Linked DNA regions of Homo sapiens: region 2 is linked to region 1. The links are contacts of gene promoters, found by promoter capture Hi-C in blood cells and fetal thymus (Javierre and others, 2016). All regions are on one chromosome and are shown on one strand. Each heading gives the region's core, a stretch centred on a gene start or on the middle of the fragment in contact. The rest is flanking DNA. Distances are from core to core; before and after follow the strand shown. Region 1 holds the start of SH3BGRL2 (SH3 domain binding glutamate rich protein like 2). Region 2 has its middle 3.5 kb from the start of LCA5.

Region 1 (3,508 bases), core at 799-3,298:
GTTATAAGGATTCATCCATATTTACTCACCTGGTGAAGTCAAAATACTTTAAAGCTAGAGTGTGCAATTCTGAGTTATCCATGAAAATCCTTCATTTTACAGAAGAGAAACTCAGGCAGAGATGAGGTACCTTAACCAGGCTTACACTGCACTAGTTGGGGCCCACACTAAAACTTAAGTCTCTTAATTTTAGCTCCATGTGCAAAACACAAAACATTAAATTTAAAAGTTAAAAAGGCACACAGCAGGCAGGCAATAAATATTTGCCAATGGCACTGAAAAAACAAAGATGTGGAGTACCAAAACTATCTCAATATACTACCTACTAATAGAGTAAGCCAAGTCATTACCTTGACTTGGTCCGACTTGCTCCAAAGTAGCCTAGGCTTTATCTCTTGTGGAAGGGATAAAAACCATTCCTTCCATAATCAATATAATGCTATTGGGACAATTATTGAAGCATGCAAGTCGGTGGTGAAACCAAGAGCTTTGTAGCATTCTTAGTAAGGAGTGCATTTGAACAAATCTACCCTTGAAACAGTGCCAGTTTGCAAACACATGAAGTGTGGCTTCAGTGGGGAAATCTACAAAAGGCAGGCATGACTAAGCAACCCAAATAGCTAGAAACACCAGAAACTGTCAGAAGTCTGAGGACCCCAACATGACTGCACATAAGTGTAAGTTGGATTTTCCCATCTATTGTTTCTAGTGCAAATGGGGGTGGAGGGGCTTTGTATGATCGTGTTGGTTTCTTTTTAAATAAAAAACTTCAGTGGTGTACAAGGATTTTCAAACAATATTTTATTCCATCCTCCACTCCACCCACTTAAGAAACAAATTTTGGAACAATCTGACTGAGCTACTGGGCAGACAATTGACCAGACCAAATTTAAGCAATCTACAATGCACTTTTTGATGTTACTTGATTATATATGTCACAAAGGAGGCTCTTAAATCTATAGCTGAACTCTTGGTTAAGGAAACCAAGTCTCAATAATCATGTAAAACACATGTGCTATGTCCCTTAGTGGGCTGTCAAATATACTAACTACTGAATTTTCCTTAAATTCTGACATCTCTAGCTATTTAACTTTCCTTTCTTTAAAAAAATTTTTTTTCTCTAAAAAAATTCAAGAACATCCACCAAAGAGAATAGCTAAAAATAATTAAATAGAAAACCACAATTCATAGATCCCCAGGATAAAATTTCCACAGCATTACAGGTGGAAAGAAAATGCGTGCATACACACACATTTACATAAAGATGTAAAAATATTTATGGCACCCTAAGAAAAAAAATGACAGTGAAAGCAAACAATCCTACCACAACAGGACAAACCTAGTTTTACTATTCTCTTTGCGCAGGTATAAAACTAAACAAATGCACTTGCTGGCGGGGAAGGGAGGACAGAGAGCAATTCCCACTTAAACTTGCTTCATTCAGGAGCTAGGGTAACAAACCAAAGCAGCAGAAAAGGCTCCCGTGCAAAACATAACCAGTCTGAAGGTCCCAAATCGGGAAGAACTAAACTAGGGGAAGGGGGATCCCCGAAGCTCTTGAACAACCCGTTCCCCAAATTTCCATGCCACACAACAGGAGCTGGGGGCTTCCCTCGGACTCCATTTTCAGGCCGCGTTGTCTGCCTTTCAGGCCACGCAGGGTGGGCATTTGGGTGAGGCCGGGGTCCCCCACCCACCTTTCCTCCCCGCCCTCTTCATTGTTGTCGGAGTGTGATGGATCACCTGCCGGGCGCGGGCTCCCGCGGGCGGACCGGCTGAGCGCAAGGACGCGCAGTGACGAGCGCCGCGCGCCTCCCGCAGGACCCGCGCCCCGCGACCCCAACCTACTGCCCGCCCCCACCGCGCTCACCGCCACGAAGCCCGAGGAAGAGGCGATGAACACGCGGATGACCATCCTCTCGCTGCGCCCGGGACAGACCCCTTGCCCCCCGGGCTCCGGGCTGGCGTGGACGCAGAGCTGAACCCAGCTACGAGCCGCCGGCAGCCTCTGGGTAAAGCGCTGCCGTCGGGGAAGATCGCTGGGATCTGGCTCCCTCCCGGCGGGTCCGCAGATAAAAGCCCAGCGCCGCCCGGCCGCAGGCTGAAGGGGAAGGAGAGGGAGGAGGAGGGAGCCGGCTGCGGGGCTTGATGGGATTTGTAGTTTCCGTCTCTCCCTGGAGTGGCTGGTGGACTGAGCTCCCCTCCTGACCGCGCTTCTATCCCGAACACGCGCAGGTGGCTGGAGGGGAGCCACAGCCCGGGCAGAAGCTGTGAGGTGGGTTGGCAAGGATCCTGGCTTGATGAGGAAAAAGCAAACTAGGCAAAAGGGCTCGGTTCAAAGTCCAAGCTTGGGTTCTGTATTGTGGTTTATTGGTTTGGAGCATCCACACCCAGAAATGCCAACAGACACGATCGTGCTGCGGGCACACATCGTCTCAGGGCCGCTGGCGTACCGGGCAAACCCCAGCTACCTGAAGCAGGCGGGATCGGCGAGCCGGGTGCTTGGGAGGTGTGGGCGGTGGGGTTGGGCTCGTTTGTTTGTCCAGTAGCACTGGAGATTGCAGAAAGGTGATTCTTTTGGGTAAATGAGAGGTCTTCTCTTGTCTGTACACACTGAAAATTAGAAACCCAGATGGAAGCACAACCAATATTTTATTTTTCTCAGCAAAACTGTAATTGTAGTAGAAAAAAATAAATACCAAACGAAATTGGAATCCTTCTATCAACATTGGAAATCAGGACCCTACCTGCCCCACCCCTCCCTACACAATGGCTTCGCCTCTGTGCACCTAATATTTACAGTTCAGCCAAATCTGTGCCTTTTTCAGAACCGCTGCACATTCCAGCGCAGTTTCCCAGGAGGATGCTGTTAAATAAAAAGCTTCTATATAGTTGCTAATAGTTTAGGAATAGTTTTTTATCAAGTGCTTTCTGTTTGACAAAAGCTCAAGCCTCTCTCTCAGTTTTGTCGAAAGGAACCAGTTTTCCCTGCTGTACTGTATTTACTTTTTTCCTTTCAACACGGGAGTTTAGCAGAGGTCTGGGAACAATGTTAATTAAGAAAAAGTAAGAAATTAGATGATGAGGTCTCTGGCTCTTTGATACATTTCTTGCACAAAGAGCAATCATTATGAAGTATTTTTTAGAACAGTTATGAATATTTCAAATTTATAACCTTTCCTATTGCTTTTCTTAAAGCCATTTCTGTAGTAGGAATCTTTTTAAATTTCCTTCAATAATAGAAGAGACACTCCTAATGGGACTTTATTTCTTCTTCGTGTTTAAAATTTTAAATAGAAGTTTTGCTGTCTTTAGTATCTCTCGGCAAATGTACTTTAATTTTGCTACCATAAATGTGGAAATGCACGTTTATAAAATAGAAAATAATTTTCTTAAAAGTAGATACCGTATTTCCTATATAAATGCAAATCTTTATAAAAGTCAGCATTTTCTTCAGTTTGGAATTATTCAGCTATGAAGATATAGTTAAACTCAAATAATTGGAACT
Region 2 (3,710 bases), core at 560-3,059, 90 kb after region 1:
TATTCAGTGAGGAAAAGACACATTAGACTAGAGCCAATTGTTGCCTGACAGGAACAGAGACATTGAGAAGGAACTTCTCCCTAACTCCCACCTTCCAACCTCTCCCTAAATGCCCCATTTTGGCAGAACCTACCGATAAGCCAACTAGCAAGGGTGTCTGGGAAATGCAGTTTGTTGAGTCCTAGCTCCTGAACCTTAAAGTAGAATATAGAGGCCAGGTGTGGTGGCTCACGCCTGTAATCCCAGCACTTTGGGAGGCCAAGGCGGGTGGATCACCTGAGGTCAAGAGTTTGAGACCAGCCTGATCAACCTGGTGAAACCCTATATTTACTAATAATACAAAATTAGCTGGGTGTGGTGGTGCATGCCTGTAATCCCAACTATCTAGGAGGCTGAGGCAGAATTGCTTGAACCCAGGAGGCAGAGGTTGCATTGCAGTGAGCTGAGATCGCACCATTGCACTCCAGCCTGGGCAACAAGAGTGAAACCCTGTCTCGGAAAAAAAAAAAAAGTAGGATATAGAAAAGGCAGGCTAGGATCTGAGAAACAAAAGGCATATAACTGGCACAATTCCAGTTCAACTCTGGCACTGGTGTAAGTGGTGGTACTCAGTGACTTCATGATGGCCACCAGCAGAAGTTGCTGGGTCCTGGAGAGAAGAGGGATAGACTGTTGCCTGGCAGAGCAGTGGTCCTGGTATCTTGCCTAGTGGGATGACCAGTAGAGGCAGGTATGTTTGTAAGTATGAGACACTCTCTAGGAAGTCCCAGAAATTATTGGTGGGGAAGTCTTTGGAGGGGAGGGGTGCTATAAAGCAGAGGCAGTCAAAAAATAACAAAATTTGGTTAATCTCATCTGTATTTACAGACTGGGGAACTTGTAATTACAAGAGTTTTTCTTAAATAAAATGTGAAAACAAGCCCACCAGACTGATCTATGAACCTATTTGAATAAAATTATTATCATCACTTTTGGGGACATCTATTAGCTTTGTCCAGTATTTCTTCTTCTAGTAACAGCATTCCAGTTTTCCTGTGGAGAATCACCTCACTATTCTGAGCAAACATGAAAGATAAGGTGACTTTATCATATTCTTTCCCGAAGCAAACTCTTGGCCACAGTACTTACTAATAGTTCATATTCAAGTGTGGGCAGTCAGAGTTAATACCAAGATTTCTGCTGGACCAATCAGGAAAGAGATATTCTTTTTCCACTGGGGTTGTGAGGTAAATAGAATGTAAATCTGGAGCACTGGTGGCCATACCTGGAAGGGAAAGCCTGCCTTAAATAAGACCAACACGTAGAAAAGTACATCCAAGAGACAAAGAGAAGAAAAAATTTTAATAACATTGAGCACTTGGATCCAACCATACGTGGAGCTAGGTCTACTAGATTTTTCTGTTATACAAACCAATGCATTCTTTTTTTTTAAGCCATTCAGAAATTGAGGTAAAATTTACATACAGTGAAAAGCACACATATTTTATATATTTTAATGAATTTTGATAAAGGAAACTTCTTTTTTTTTGAGACTGAGTCTCACTCTGCCGCCCAGGCTGGAGTGCAGTGGTGTGATCTCAGCTCACTGCAACCTTTGCCTCCCAGGTTCAAGCAATTCTCCTGCCTCAGCCTCACGTGAAGCTGGGACTGCAGGCACACACCACCACGTCTGGCTAATTTTGTATTTTTAGTAGAAATGGGGGTCTCACCATGTTGGCCAGACTGGTCTCAAACTCCTCACCTCAAGTGATCTGCCCACTTCGGCCTACCAAAGTGCTGGGATTACAGGCATGAGCCACCATGCCCGGCTGGAAACTCTCTTTAACTACCACGTCAGTCAAAACAGCATATTCACATCACTCCAAAAATAACTTTCAGTCCCTTCCACTTGATCCTACCTCCATCCCCACAGTCAATAACTGTTCTAATTTTTTCCAGTTTAGATGAATTTTGCCTGTTTTTGAATCACTTATTAATGGAAGTATACAGAATATATTCTTTTGTGTCTGACTTCTTTTGCTCAATATTGTCTTTAAAATTAATCCGTGTTAATCAGTAGTTCATTCTATCGATGACCAGCATTATGTTGTAAGTATATACACATTTTTACAAACATCTCAAGTTTTCTTTCTCCATTAACAAAAAAAAACTCGTACATTTCATCAAGTGATCAGAAACTGTATCCTTTAAACAGAGCAATAATCAAAGGCTACTAGCTTTTTGTACTGCAAAATCAAGTATTCATAGCAATCAGATTAGACTACATTTGTTTTCATCAGAGCAGCCCACTTTCTAGGTATGAAATTATACTATTTATTTATTTTATTTATTTATTTATTTATTTTTGAGACGGAATCTTGCTCTGTTGCCCAGGCTGGAGTGCAGTGGCGCGATCTCGGCTCACTGCAACCTCCGCCTCCCGGGTTCATGCCATTCTCCTGCCTCAGCCTCCCGAGTAGCTGGGACTACAGGCACCCGCCACCACGCCCAGCTCATTTTTTTGTATTTTTATTAGAGACAGGGTTTTACTGTGTTAGCCAGGATGGTCTTGATCTCCTGACCTCGTGATCCACCCACCTTGGCCTCCCAAAGTGCTGGGATTACAGGCATGAGCCACAGCACCCGGCCAATTATACTGTTCTTTACACCCAACTCAACCAATCCATTCGATTTCTCTTAAACATGCAGCATATTAGATACTGTTTCAAATTTAGTGTTATATGCTAAAACCAACTATTTACCTAGAATCTATTAATAAATTTAAAATTTCCAAGCAACATGAGATCAAGAAGTTAGAGAAAAAATTTTTGAATTTTTGTTATGTATCACATTTCTGTAAATTATATAAAATTGTGACACTGCTTTTCTTCTTTTGTAGAATGGTATGAAATAGATGACTGAACTTTAGCTAAGGATAATTATACTTATGTGCTTTCCAAGATACTATATATAGTATGTCCCCCCACTTTACAAATTATGGTCATTGTAATTTCTCTGTCTACAGTTAGAGAGTCTATTTATCTACCTATTACTTTTTTGAAACTTCTAACCAACCATTCAAACTCGACACTAGTTTCCCCAAAGGAAAATGAGAATAATCCTACTAGTAAGCATTTGTAGGAATATTTTAGTTACATTATAACATCTACATCATTGCCATATGGCAATAAAGAAGCCAATCAAAGTCCTACAGAAAATGAACATTCAGTTAGCAATGTAGCAAATCTGGAGATATTGCAGTATCAATGGAAGAAGCCCAGGATATTAAAAATAAAACTCCAAAGTGCTTAATGACCATTGCAGAATTTGTTTCATAAACAAAATCTTTAAAAACAAGAGTCTGATTTCTGTTAACTATAATTTCAAGTGGCAGAAATATAAATGTGGTTTTGATAACTTTGTTTCCTTTATTTCTGAAAAGCAGAATCCTGTGTGGTACTGAAATAAAATGTCAAATGGTATCTTAGAAAATTCTAGCCCTATCAAAAATAATATATAAAACCATGTAATGTCATAAAACTTTTAAAACTGCTTTCTCATATTTTGGGGTAACCTTTTAAAATGGTAATTCAATAAACTAGTTTTTACTTCTGTAAATTTATACATTTTTTGGTCTTTTTTCAAGGTCAAACTGATACTGTTATTTTGAATATGAGGGGGTGAATAAAATTGCACACTGTAAGAATCCTGAGACTATGTTACACACAACT

What was found. Contacts are between HindIII fragments. The CHiCAGO score rates a contact against its expected background, and 5 or more counts as called.
Region 2: a fragment that was not itself captured here is called in contact with the fragment with the promoter of SH3BGRL2 in region 1 in 1 of 17 cell types (megakaryocytes); the score reaches 5.6 in megakaryocytes.

What each region holds. Positions count from the first base shown.
Region 1 is chr6:79,629,869-79,633,376 of GRCh38, reverse strand. SH3BGRL2 (SH3 domain binding glutamate rich protein like 2) reads right to left here and starts at 2,048. Exons shown (of 4, transcript NM_031469.4): 1 at 1,871-2,048. The coding sequence starts at 1,915. The HindIII fragment of the contact is 2,885 bases long and covers 1-2,349 here.
Region 2 is chr6:79,539,071-79,542,780 of GRCh38, reverse strand. It overlaps a transcript of SH3BGRL2 not described here. Among named protein-coding and RNA genes, the nearest start is that of LCA5, 3.5 kb to the right of the region's middle. The HindIII fragment of the contact is 5,167 bases long and covers 1-3,710 here.